Regions from separate parts of the Homo sapiens genome. Here region 1 is linked to region 2. Evidence: promoter capture Hi-C in human tissues and cell types (Jung and others, 2019). All regions are on one chromosome and are shown on one strand. The core of a region is centred on a gene start or on the middle of the fragment in contact, and the rest is flanking DNA. Distances in the headings are between cores, read along the strand shown.

Evidence for each region. The method cuts DNA at HindIII sites, captures the fragments that hold promoters and counts their contacts. A contact is called where the count stands out against the background at its distance.
Region 1: a contact is called between a fragment that was not itself captured here and the fragment with the promoter of GLB1L3 in region 2, in 1 of the 25 tissues and cell types used here (H1 embryonic stem cells).

The regions. Positions count from the first base shown.
Region 1 is chr11:134,946,763-134,952,526 of GRCh38, forward strand. LINC02697 (long intergenic non-protein coding RNA 2697) reads left to right here and starts at 4,227. Exons shown (of 2, transcript NR_187396.1): 1 at 4,227-4,535. RefSeq lists enhancers at 544-1,044, 1,045-1,545, 2,098-3,297. The HindIII fragment of the contact is 3,649 bases long and covers 1,253-4,901 here.
Region 2 is chr11:134,273,326-134,278,735 of GRCh38, forward strand. It overlaps GLB1L3 (galactosidase beta 1 like 3), which reads left to right and starts at 3,054. Exons shown (of 20, transcript NM_001080407.3): 1 at 3,054-3,438; 2 at 4,001-4,126; 3 at 4,375-4,587. The coding sequence starts at 3,416. RefSeq lists enhancers at 1-72, 2,213-2,322, 2,383-2,512, 2,663-2,712 and a silencer at 3,163-3,232. The HindIII fragment of the contact is 8,641 bases long and covers 1-5,120 here.

The DNA of each region.
Region 1 (5,764 bases), core at 1,827-4,326, 670 kb after region 2:
CAAATGTATGCAATTAATTTAGTTATTTGCATAATAAATATTCCCATAAAGTATCTTTGCTGCATGATCCCAAGTGTTTTATTATTAATTATGTTTTTCAAAATCAGAGAAGAAATATGAATGTTGGTAAGTATTTTAAAAAGCATCTATTCCTGTTTGTTTCTCTAAATTCAGTTTGGGATTAGTGGCCCTTAGCAATGGATTAGAAATTTGCAGTGTGCAAGAATGGGTCTGAGAAGCTTGGCTCCTGAGCTCAGGAAAACCCTCTGGCTAAGATGGAGGTGGCAAGATCCGTCCTGAGCTCTTCCTGCACCATCCTTGCTTGGAGCTCATTGTCCTGAAAGAAAATGGAATATACAAGCAGGGTGTGAGGAGAGGAAAGCAAGCAGGCCCTGCACTGTGCTGTACCCACCCCAGTCCCTCATGTCTTCACTGGAGGTTCAGACCCTGCCTGGGTCCAGCCTGGGTTTCCCTCCTCCTCCGCAGGGAGGAGCCGCTCTATTCCCACCTTCCCACTCTGTCCACTGTTCTGCAGATCTGCCTGACCTCAGGTAGACCAGAGTTTTCATTGCATTAAAATATTTTCTCCACCACAAAAGCAATATATAGTCATTATGCAAAATATGTGATTCACAGATAAACAAAAGGAAAAATGCAAATTAACTATAATCCCACCATTCAGAAAAATTTATTTTTAATACCTTGAGATGATCAGCATGCCTTTAAGTTTCCCAGAATTAAATGTCTGTGGCCAAATCCTTTGGAGAAATCTACATGTGAAACTGGCTGCAGATCTTCCTCATTCCAAAACTCACTTGAACACAGAATCTTCATGTAGTAGTTTTTAATAAAACGTGTATTCTGTGAGACGGGTTTTGAGAAATCCTAGTGTAATCCCTGCTTGTTCCTGGCAGCTGCCCCCAGTGCCGTCTCTGTCAGGCTGGTGGCCTGTCTGTCCCTGCGGAGGAGAGAACAGGACCTTGCACTGCTGTGACCGCCAGTTCCCAGGCCCCGTGGGATGAGCCGTGTCCTCACGGCAAGCCTGCCCTGCCTGACCTCTGGGTCTGTCTCGTGGCTATTGTCTCTTTATTTTTCAGCTACCTCTTGTCTTCATAACATGAATGTCCTTGCCAGCATATGGGCACAGTTTGATTAGGGGAGAATTATCACCCGTTTAATGCAATATACAACCAGTGTGAGATGCAGAGACACCGAGTCTTGTGTAAATTATCTTACAAATCTGAGGCCAGGCACGGTGGTTCAAGCCTGTAATCCCAGCACTTTGGGAGGCTGAGGCGGGAGGATCACCCGAGGTCAGGAGTTGGAGACCAGCCCAGCCAATATGGTGAAACCCCGTCTCTACTAAAAATACAAAGATTAGCTGGGCATGGTGGCAGGCACCTGTAATCCTAGCTACTCAGGAGGCTGAGGCAGGAGAATCATTTGAACCTGGGAGGTGGAGGTTGTATTGAGCTGAGATCGTGCCACTGCACTCCAGCCTGGGTGACAGAGTGAGTCTCTATCCCAAAAAAAAAAATTAAATAAATAAATAATAATTTTACAAATCTGAGATATGCGCCTGAAAGACACATCTTAGATTTCTCGCCAACTCATTGATCAAGTCACCTATCCACAGAATAACTGAGTCAGTCTGCTGTCTTCACCCAGGAAAGTGATCAGGTCTTTATAGCTCAAGGCTGGGTTTGCTTGTAGGAAATCCCTGTGTGGGCTGCAAGATTCAAGATGCATTGGGGATTTCTCCCTCAAAAATATCTTCTCCATGGATGCCCCAGGGAGCTCTCATGGAAGCTATCAGAGTGGTCTTTGTCCAGGAGATGCAGTCATCCTCATGGAAGCTATCAGAGTGGTCTTTGGCCAAGAGATGCAGTCATCCTCATCGAAGCTATCAGAGTTGTCTTTGGCCAGGAGATGCAGTCATCCTCATGGAAGCTATCTGAGTGGTCTTTTGGCTGGGAGATGCAGTCATCCACAGATCTCTTCTTGTTTTAGCCACCTCTCTCTCCTCCATGGGCTCTCTAAGGAAAATACATGCATAGGCTAAACTGGCAAAGGAAAGCAAAGTAACGCTTTATTATTAATTGGGACTTTGGTTCCAAGCCTCCAAACAGAATTCCATTAAACTATGTTGGACTCAATAGGTAATTCTTCATGAGAATTTATGAGAATATGCATAAGGCAGCTCAGAGCTTAGAACCAAGTGCTGGGCAGTATATTCCTTTTTATGCACTCACAACCAGACCTTAAGCTTGACTCCATCAACCAGGCCAGAGAATTCCTACAATAGCAGGAGGAAATGGAGTCACAGCACAAGGGACCCTGTTTGTCTGCAGTGCTCAGCACAAAACCAGCCAAGCCTGGTTGCTGTATTAGGAAGAGAGAACTTTCCGAGAGAAAGCCTGTCTGGCCCTTGGCACTTCCCGCTGCAGTCACTGGAGAGGTAAGAGAGAAAAGGGGCCACTCTGTCATGTGTTTTCTCTGAAAACAAACCCAGGACACTATGACTAAGCATTGACCAAGAGCTTGGAATTTCCTGTCCTTGATGCCACAAGCAATCCCAAACTTGGCAATGTAAAATAGCAACTGTTTTGTAGTGCTCTTGGGTTCTGCAATCCAGGGATCTGAGAACAGCATTGTAGGGTGGTTTATCTCTGCTCCACACTGTCTGCATCCTCAGCTTGGAAGACCGGGAGGCTGGAGGCAGCTTGGCAGCTGGGGTCTGAACCCCCCTGCAGGCACACTTCTTCACATGGCAGTTGATGCTGGCTGCTGGCTGGGACCTCTGCTGGGCTGCCAGCCAGAATATCTGTTTGTGGCTTCTCCATGTGGCTGTTTGGGGTTCTTCAAATTTCTTCTAAGAGTGAACATCCCAAGAGAACCAGGCTGAAGCCATATCACCTTTCGCATGCTAGCCTTGGGAGTAAAATCATGTCCTTCTCATTGTACTCCATTAATCAGGGCAGTCGCAAAGATCCAGCCAGACTGAATGAGAGGGGACAGACATCATCATTCCACGGCTGGTACGTTAAGCTTACATTGTAAGAAAAGCATGTGGGATGTGCAGTGTTATTACTTGCCACCCAACTCACCCTCGATTAGTAATAAAGTGTCTATATGGGACACGTGGAAGCAAGGGGGAGAGAAATAAGAGTCCTAAGTTTCTCCCAGATACTGACTGATACTGGGAAACGTGCCTAAAACCCACTGCTGGAATCCTTCTCTGGATCAGAGCACGCAGCCTCAGAACAGTGAGTAATTAAGCTGTTATTGGCTGTTGGTGTCAATAGCCAATACTGACTACACACTTCATTGTCTATTGGTCATATTAGAAAGCAGACGGGACTGAAGATCTAGACGGATAAATTGTTCTTTGGTGAAGGGTTTTGGGACACGTTTCATCAATAGGTTCCTATCAGGCAAATGCTCCAGGAGGCTGGAGATGAAAACTGAACAAATAACTGAAAGAAAAGAATAAAGAAATGCCTTCTTTAAGCCTTGGCTCCTTCACAATTTGACCATGACCAGTCCTTCCCAGAAGTGAGAGTCAGCTGGGCAGGAGTTTTCCTCCATCAGTGGAGTCATTTTATCAACATCCAGCCTTAGAGCGCTTCTTTACGGAGGGAGAAACTCAAACACAAGGCAGGGGAGGTGACAAGTGTGTTCTCCAGGCCTGGGGTTTCAGGTGAGGGTGGAGGTGTGGGGCCAGGCAGGTGGTGGCTATCCCCTCTTCCCCATAAGGAAGATAACACGAACATGCAGGTTGATGCAGGGAGAGCAGAATTATGGGATGTTACATCTTACAGAAATATCAGTTATGTTTCTTTAATTGTCAGTGACAAAAAGATATTTTTTCTACAAATAAAAAAGGCCATATTTGGAATAATATGGAGCATCTTACAAAAGGAAAATTGTACCTGTACCTAATAAGCCATAGTAGCTCTGGGAACTGAATCTCGGGCACCAGGAACAGTCTCGCATGTCATTGTAATCTGGATTCATGAGCTCTGACTTTCCACAGTCTTTGAGTCACTGAGCACTAGGATCAACTTTCACAGAGGATCCAGATAATCAGCCAGCTTAAGTCACACTCCTACAGCTTGGCTAGGGTAGGGATTCCTCACCAACAGTCCCATAAGATCTTATCCAGTCAGGAGGGGCTGGCCCAATCTGAAGTGCAGCCGAGACCGGGAGCCACAGACCTGGAACCTGTGTACTCAAAGAGTTGTCCACATGCCAGCAGCACTGGCCCTTCCAGGAGCTGTTAGAAATGTAGAACCTCAGAGCCTACATTGAAGATATTGAATCGGAGTCTGCACATCGCTTCTGAGAAGCCATGAGCTAAGCTGATGCCATTCAGCTGGGTAGCATCGCAGTCACTGTGCAACTTTTAAACATACAGCTGCCCAGGCCCACTGCAGACCTGCTAAATTCAAGCTCCTTGTAGTGGGGCCAGGGCCCTGGGACTTCATACAAAACTCTGCAAGTCATCACTGATGAGAAAACCAAGACTCGATGAGGTAAAGCAACTTCCCCCACCACAAAACCTAGTCCTGTGTGAGGGAGCCAGGGGTATTTACATTTTCCTAATTTACATCCTTTTAAACTGCATTTTTCAGAGTCTCCTGAGCTCAGAGGAAGAAGCTGCATAACCAGCACACTTCCAGAGAGGACCGAGGAAGAGAGCGTTGCTTCAGCCAGGGTCTGATTAGTCATGCCTGGCAGGCTCTGCTGAGCTGGGTGCTCATGGGTTTTGCTTGCTGAGCTGAATTAATATATTAGTGGATTTCATGTTTGACTCGCTCTTTCTTTCTCACTGCGCAGGAGCTAAAGGAGTGGAGCTGGGGATGCCAATGTTTCTGTTTAGACAGCTGAAGGGGCCATGCGAGCCCACAGCGAGAGCTGCAGGAGCAGCTACTACAGGGAGTGGGCAGATTTTAGGGTGCGCAGATTTGTACTTGGTGTGGCTCGGTTGTACATTCAGGAATCTCTTTCCTTGTGATACGCAGAGCTGCACGTGGAAGATGTTAGGAACACAGCTGGGTGCAGTTTTGCTGGTTAGTTCTGAACAAACCTACAGACGTGAGATTTGAACTCTATAAGGGAAGAAAGCAAGGAGGAAGAAGGCACTGAGGCTGCCTGTCACCAGAAGGGTTCTGGGCAAAACGGGGTAGAGTGACTTGGGACAGTTCCTCCTAACGATAGCACAGGCAGTAGGGGTTGAGACACAGTGGGGTTGAGACTTGCTTAAATGTATAGTTATTCAGCCAGCCATTTTCATAGAATAATTGTGGGTTGCCCTGAGCTGCCGCGTTCACATGCTCTGCAGTGGAGTACTATATGCTAATGTGAGATGGGAGTACACCCAGATTTCACCCCCCTAGAACGTGGTTTTTTTTTTTTTAAAGTAAAACAATGCTATGGCCAGGTGTGGCCTGTTAGCTTTAAAAACAAATGGCCTCTGCTGAGGGACACTTGGGTTGTTTCCCTGTCTTGGCTACGGTGAGCAGTGCTGCAGTGGACATGGGAGGGCAGGCAGCTCTTCTACCCACTGACCTCCTTTCCTGTGGGTTTGTCCCCAGAAGTGGGACCTGCTGGATCATATCGAAGCTCTGGTTGTCATTTTCTGAGGAACCTTCAGGCTGTTTTCATCCTGGCTCTACTAATTTACATTCCCACCCTCAGTGAATAAGGGTTCACTCTTCACATCCTCACCAGCACAGGTTACCTTTTTTGACTTTTTCATAAT
Region 2 (5,410 bases), core at 1,804-4,303:
TGGGGTGCATATCCACTTCATTTATTTTTTAATCTGTGGGAGACAGGTTATCAATTTACTTAAAGTTTGAATGTCTGTAAGGATGAAATTTAAAGCTAGGGCTCTGAAGATCTCTAGCAGGGATGTATCTGTCATCTACCTATCCCTCCATCTCAGCCTGTGAACTGCGTGTCATCATGGGTTAAATTAATTACTAAGAGACCACGGAGTCCATTTTATAGCTCAAATGAGCATTTTTCATTTCCTGTAGTAAACATGACTTAAGTAAACAAAGAGTTTCTCTAACAAGGATGGCTTACAAGTAGAAGTGGCTAAATTTTCACTTTTATAAATTTTGCTGCTTTTTATTAACTATCAATAAACCTAGAAAGATGATCTTACAAGTAAACAACAGATTTTGCATACTTTAACCTTAAAGATATCTCTGCCTCAACTCTTTGTTCACAGCTCTCTGACACTGGAATATTAATAGTTGATAATCTTTCCCTTTAATTTTTCACTGATAATATTAGTTCCTAACCCAGGTTTTTGGATCTCACAAGGGTTCTTATTATACAGTTGTCACATACATTTCTTTAAGAAGTTCAACCTAAGAAGAAATCAAGAATTGTCTTTTCTGGTTCATACATTAACTCCTATAGGGTTGTCCACTACTAAAGCAACAGAAAGTGCTGCCTTCTTTTTCTGGAAGCTGCTGTTCTTACAAGAGAGCAATTTAGGAGCAGGAATTGTGCTTTATTAACATCAAAGCACTGGCACAGGAAGTTTGCACACTCAGCTCTGGGAGCTTTTTGATGCTTTCTGCCTGCTTTGGGAAATTAGCTCTTTGTTTCATTATCAGTTATCTGGATGGAAACTGAAGGGAAAAATATTGATTTTTTTTTTTTTTTTTAATAAATTGTACCAGGATGCTGGGTCTGCGGCCCTAGTGGCTGGTCTTTCCTGTGCTTGGGATGTTGGCCTTGTAGAGTTACTTCTGTAATCTCAAGACAGAAACTGACAGCTTTGTTTGATCAAAATTGTTACTTCACCTTGCACATTTTCAAGAGTTCTACAGGTTTAATGAGCACAGAAATCTGGGGGAACTTTCACTCTCCAGGGCTCCTTCATAGAGGTTCTCAAATACTCCATCAGCAGAGGGGAGCCCCAGATGGCAAAAGGACACAGGATATGTCATCTTTCAAATGAACCAATAATCCATTATTTGATTCTTCTACCTTTGTCAAAATTCCTCCAGCAACGCCTGCAGAAAATCACAATTCTTGATACATAGCTTGTTCCAATAAAGCACCACAGCATTTCTAGTGACTGCAGGCCCAGCTGTCAAACTCTTTCAACTTGATAGAGAATATGTACACAAAACCTATAGCTGTCATCATACTTAATAGTGAAAAACAGAATGTTTTCCAGCTGACACTGGGGACAAGGTAACAGTGTCAGTTCCTGCCGCTCTTATTCAACACAGAAATTTTAGTCATCATACTAAGACACACAAAAAAAGGAATAAAAAGCCACGCAGACTGGAAAGGTAGAAATAAAACTCTCCATATTTGCAGATGACATGATTATCTACATGGAAAATGCCAAGTAATACACAAATAACCTCTTAAAATTAATAGGTGAGTTTGCCAAGGTCACAGGATATGAGATCAACATGAGAAACACAATCACATTTCTGTATGCTAACAACAAACATGTAAAAACTGAAATAAAAATAATAACAGTTTAAATCTCTTGAGAGCAAAGGAAATATTTAAGTATAAACCTAACAAAACGTGATAGGATCTGATGTTGAAAAAATCACACAATTCTGATGAAAGAAGTGAAAAAAAAAAAACTATTTAAATAGACAGACATACCATGTTCGTGGGTTGGAAGATTCAACATAATAAGGATACAATTCTCAATTTGATCCATAGGTTGATTGCAATTCCTCTCGAAATACCAACATGGCTTTTTGTAGAAACAGACAAGTTTATTCTAAATTTTATGTGGGAAGGCACAAGCCCTAGAATACTTTAAACTTGACAAAGAAGAATAAAGTGTGTGGCTGTAAAACCAAACTGTAAAAAATTAACAGTTCATTGCTTGCAGTCGAAAAAATGAGGAAAAGATGGACGATCTAGGAAACTTTCAGGGAGCTAAGGTGTCGGAGAGCAAAGTATCCTTGTAAGGAATGAGACAAGATAAACTCCCTCCCCCACACACAGTATTTTCAGAGAACTACATTCTTGGTTTCAACCTGATGTCATAGGCTGTGTTCTTTGCAACGGAAGAAGCAAAGACTTCAAAGGGAGAAATCGGAAGATTTCTTTTTTCATCGTAGGGACTTCACATCAGCGTTTCCAAAACCGAGTCCATCGCCTTTTCCCTCTGCGCAGCCTCTATCCCTTCCTGTGTTTCGCATCTCAATAAACGTCCCCGCCAAGTGACTTCAGCCTGAAACATGCGGCCTCCCGGACTCCTCTCTGTGTCACCGACCTCTTGCGCTCAGTTCTCCGGAGCTGCCGGTTTAACCTCGCAAGTCTTCCCGGAACCCGTGCCCTCCTCCTGGGCAGCGTTACCACCACGAGCGCCTACCTGAGAGGACGCCTGTTCTCATCCAGCCTCCACCCTGCAGCCGAGCAATCTCCGTAAAACGAACACCTGGCTTAGTTTCTGCTGGAAACCGTTGAATAGTCCCCACTGTCTTCTGGAAGGGTCTGGGCAGCTCGGCGTGGCGTCCACGGCCCCACCAGGCCTCTGCCTCCTGCAGGTCCCGCTACTTCGTCACCAAAGCGCCCGCCGCGCTCGCATCTGCTGTGAGGCTGTGCTCGGGCCGCTCCCGCCGAGGGAACGGCCCTCCCAAGGCTCTGCGCCCCAATTCTCGCTCGTTTGCCAAGAGGTAGCCGTGTCGGGGAGCTAGAGTTCTCCGGGGACTCTCTCCTGCCCCTCGTGGCCCTCTGTGGAACCCTCGTTTTAGGATCTGCACGCCGTTTCCAGTCGCGCGCGCGGCACGGAGACCGCCCGCTGTGCCCCGCGCTGCGCTCTCTCCGCCCCTCTCCCGCGCAGGCCTCCCTGTGCCAGCCGGCTGTCGACCCAGGTTAGGAAGCCCGAGGTCGGGGCGTTACCCCAAGGGCCCTCCCGCTTCCCCTCCGAGGGCAGAGAGGCGTCCGCGCCCGGACGCACTGCGGGAACACCTGGAGCGCCGGCGGAGCTCGGCTGTCCCCGCGGGAGGGAGCCCGACGCGCATCCTTGGGACCCGGACCCGGCGCCCGCGCCTCGGGACGGATTTCTGCCTCGGCTGCAGGCGCAGCGCGCAGACCTGAGCCTGCCCCGCGGAACCGGGGCTCGAGTCCCGGCCCGAGCGCGGCGTCGGGGCCAGCGGAGAGGGGCGGAAGCCGCAAGGGACCCTCGGCGCCTCGGCCTGGCCGCGATGAAGTCCCCGCCCCTCCTCAGGTGACGGATCGCCGCTGCCGTCCCGGGCTGCCCACCACCCCGGCGCGTGCCCGGGAGCCTCCACCCTCCCCGGGTTCTGTGGCCGGCCACGCGCCCCAGGCACGCGCCGCGCCGGGCCGCGCCACCAAGCCCGCTGTCCCCAGCTTTCCTCGGCAGATCCCCTGGCTACCCCCACCCTGCGGAGGGGCCGTTCACCAGATGCCAGAAAATCAGGGTGGGGCACGCAGGCCAGGGGCTCCAGCGGCTGGGCACCGTGTCCTTCCCGAACCTGGTGCTGGAAGTGCGCCCGCCTCCGCCTCTCCCAGGCACCCACCGGCACTGCCCAGCCCTGTCTGGAGGGTCTAGGACTGAACGTCTGTCCCCGGCCTTCATCCTGGCTGCAGAGGACTGGCCGGGTGATGCCGCGCTGTCCTGGCCCTGGGCCCGCCTGGAAGACCCGCCTGTGTCGCGGGCCCCCTCCCTGGCTCTGGCCTCTAAAGCGCCCCCGGCACAGCTTCCCGGCCCTTGCAGCCCGGTGGGGCCGGAACCTTCCCCTTGTCACTGTTGTCCTTTCTCCTTTCAGCCCGTGTCTCTCCTGGAAGAGAATGGCGGGCATCTTTTTCCTGCCATTTATCTCATCAGGTTTTGCTCCTCGGTTTAAGCAGGAAGAGAACTTCATGCTTGGAAGAGCGCATCCGTCCCAGCCTAGGTTTGCTTGAGAGCTACATCCCTGGGGAGGGAGGGGAGCGATCTCTCCTTTCTTGGAGAAAATAGTATCGCGAATATGCACAGAACACGTCCTACTAACATATGCACAGAACACGTCCTACTAACATATGCACAGAACACGTCCTACTAACAAAAACTTCTTTTCGCTAGGGTTTCAGCCGTGCCTCCGAGCCCTCTCCCGAATCCTCTCTCCCTTTCCACTTTCTTTCCCTCGCCCGCCCCCTCCAGGTTTAATTGGTCTCATCTGACCCCTCTGGAGCTGAAGAATCGATCTGTGGGACTTGGAACTGAAAGCACAGGTCGGGGTAAGCCCCACTTCACACTGGAGGGCCACAAGTTCCTGATCTTCGGGGGCTCCATCCACTATTTCCGGGTGCCCAGGGAGTACTGGAGGGACCGCCTGCTGAAGCTGAAGGCCTGTGGCTTCAATACTGTCACCACGTGAGTGCCGGCCCCTCACCTCCAGGATCTCGTTACCCTACAAGTGCATCCTGGCCGGGAACCTGAGCCTCCGATTTTGGGGGCCCAGCGTGAGGACTTACCTTCCGCACAGTCGTTTCCAGCACATACATTTAATGCTTAAGCGTCCAGCTGTCACTTAGTCTCATGCTGAGTTTGCTCTGTGATCAAAGACTTGGATAGGGGTTAGTGGGAGAATCTCAAGGGAGGAGGTTATTTCCTCAGGATTCTGTCTGTCTAATGAAGGAACACCAGGCGCCCTTGGGAGCACTCAGTTTAATGACATAAGCTTAAGGCACACTTACAGATAAATATGTACTTACAGATACATGCATGTTTTTAAAACAAAAAAAAATTTTTTTTTTTGAGACACAGTTTGTTGTTCTGTTTGTTGCTCAGGCTGGAGTGCAGTGGCCCGATCTTAGCTCACGGCAGCTTCTACTTCTCTGGCTCAGGTGATCCTCCTGCCTCAGCCTCCTGAACAGCTGGGGCCACAGGTGCATGCCACCACACCAGGCTAATTTTTTGAATTGTTTGTAGAGATGGAGTTTCGCCATGTTGCCTGGGCTGGTCTCAAACTCCTGGACTCAAGCAGTTCACCCTTTAAAAGGGAACACCACGGTCGTCCTCATGCCTGTATACAACTGACCAGCCACCCTGTATGACCACAAAAAAGCAAAACTGCTCCAGAATCAGAGGCCCTGTCCTCCTGAGGGCCTGCCACCACCATTTTGTGGCAAGCTTACCATCACACTCACTGTAAAGGAGAAGATGCTTAGAGGGCCCTGTGCCTTATTGCAGAGCT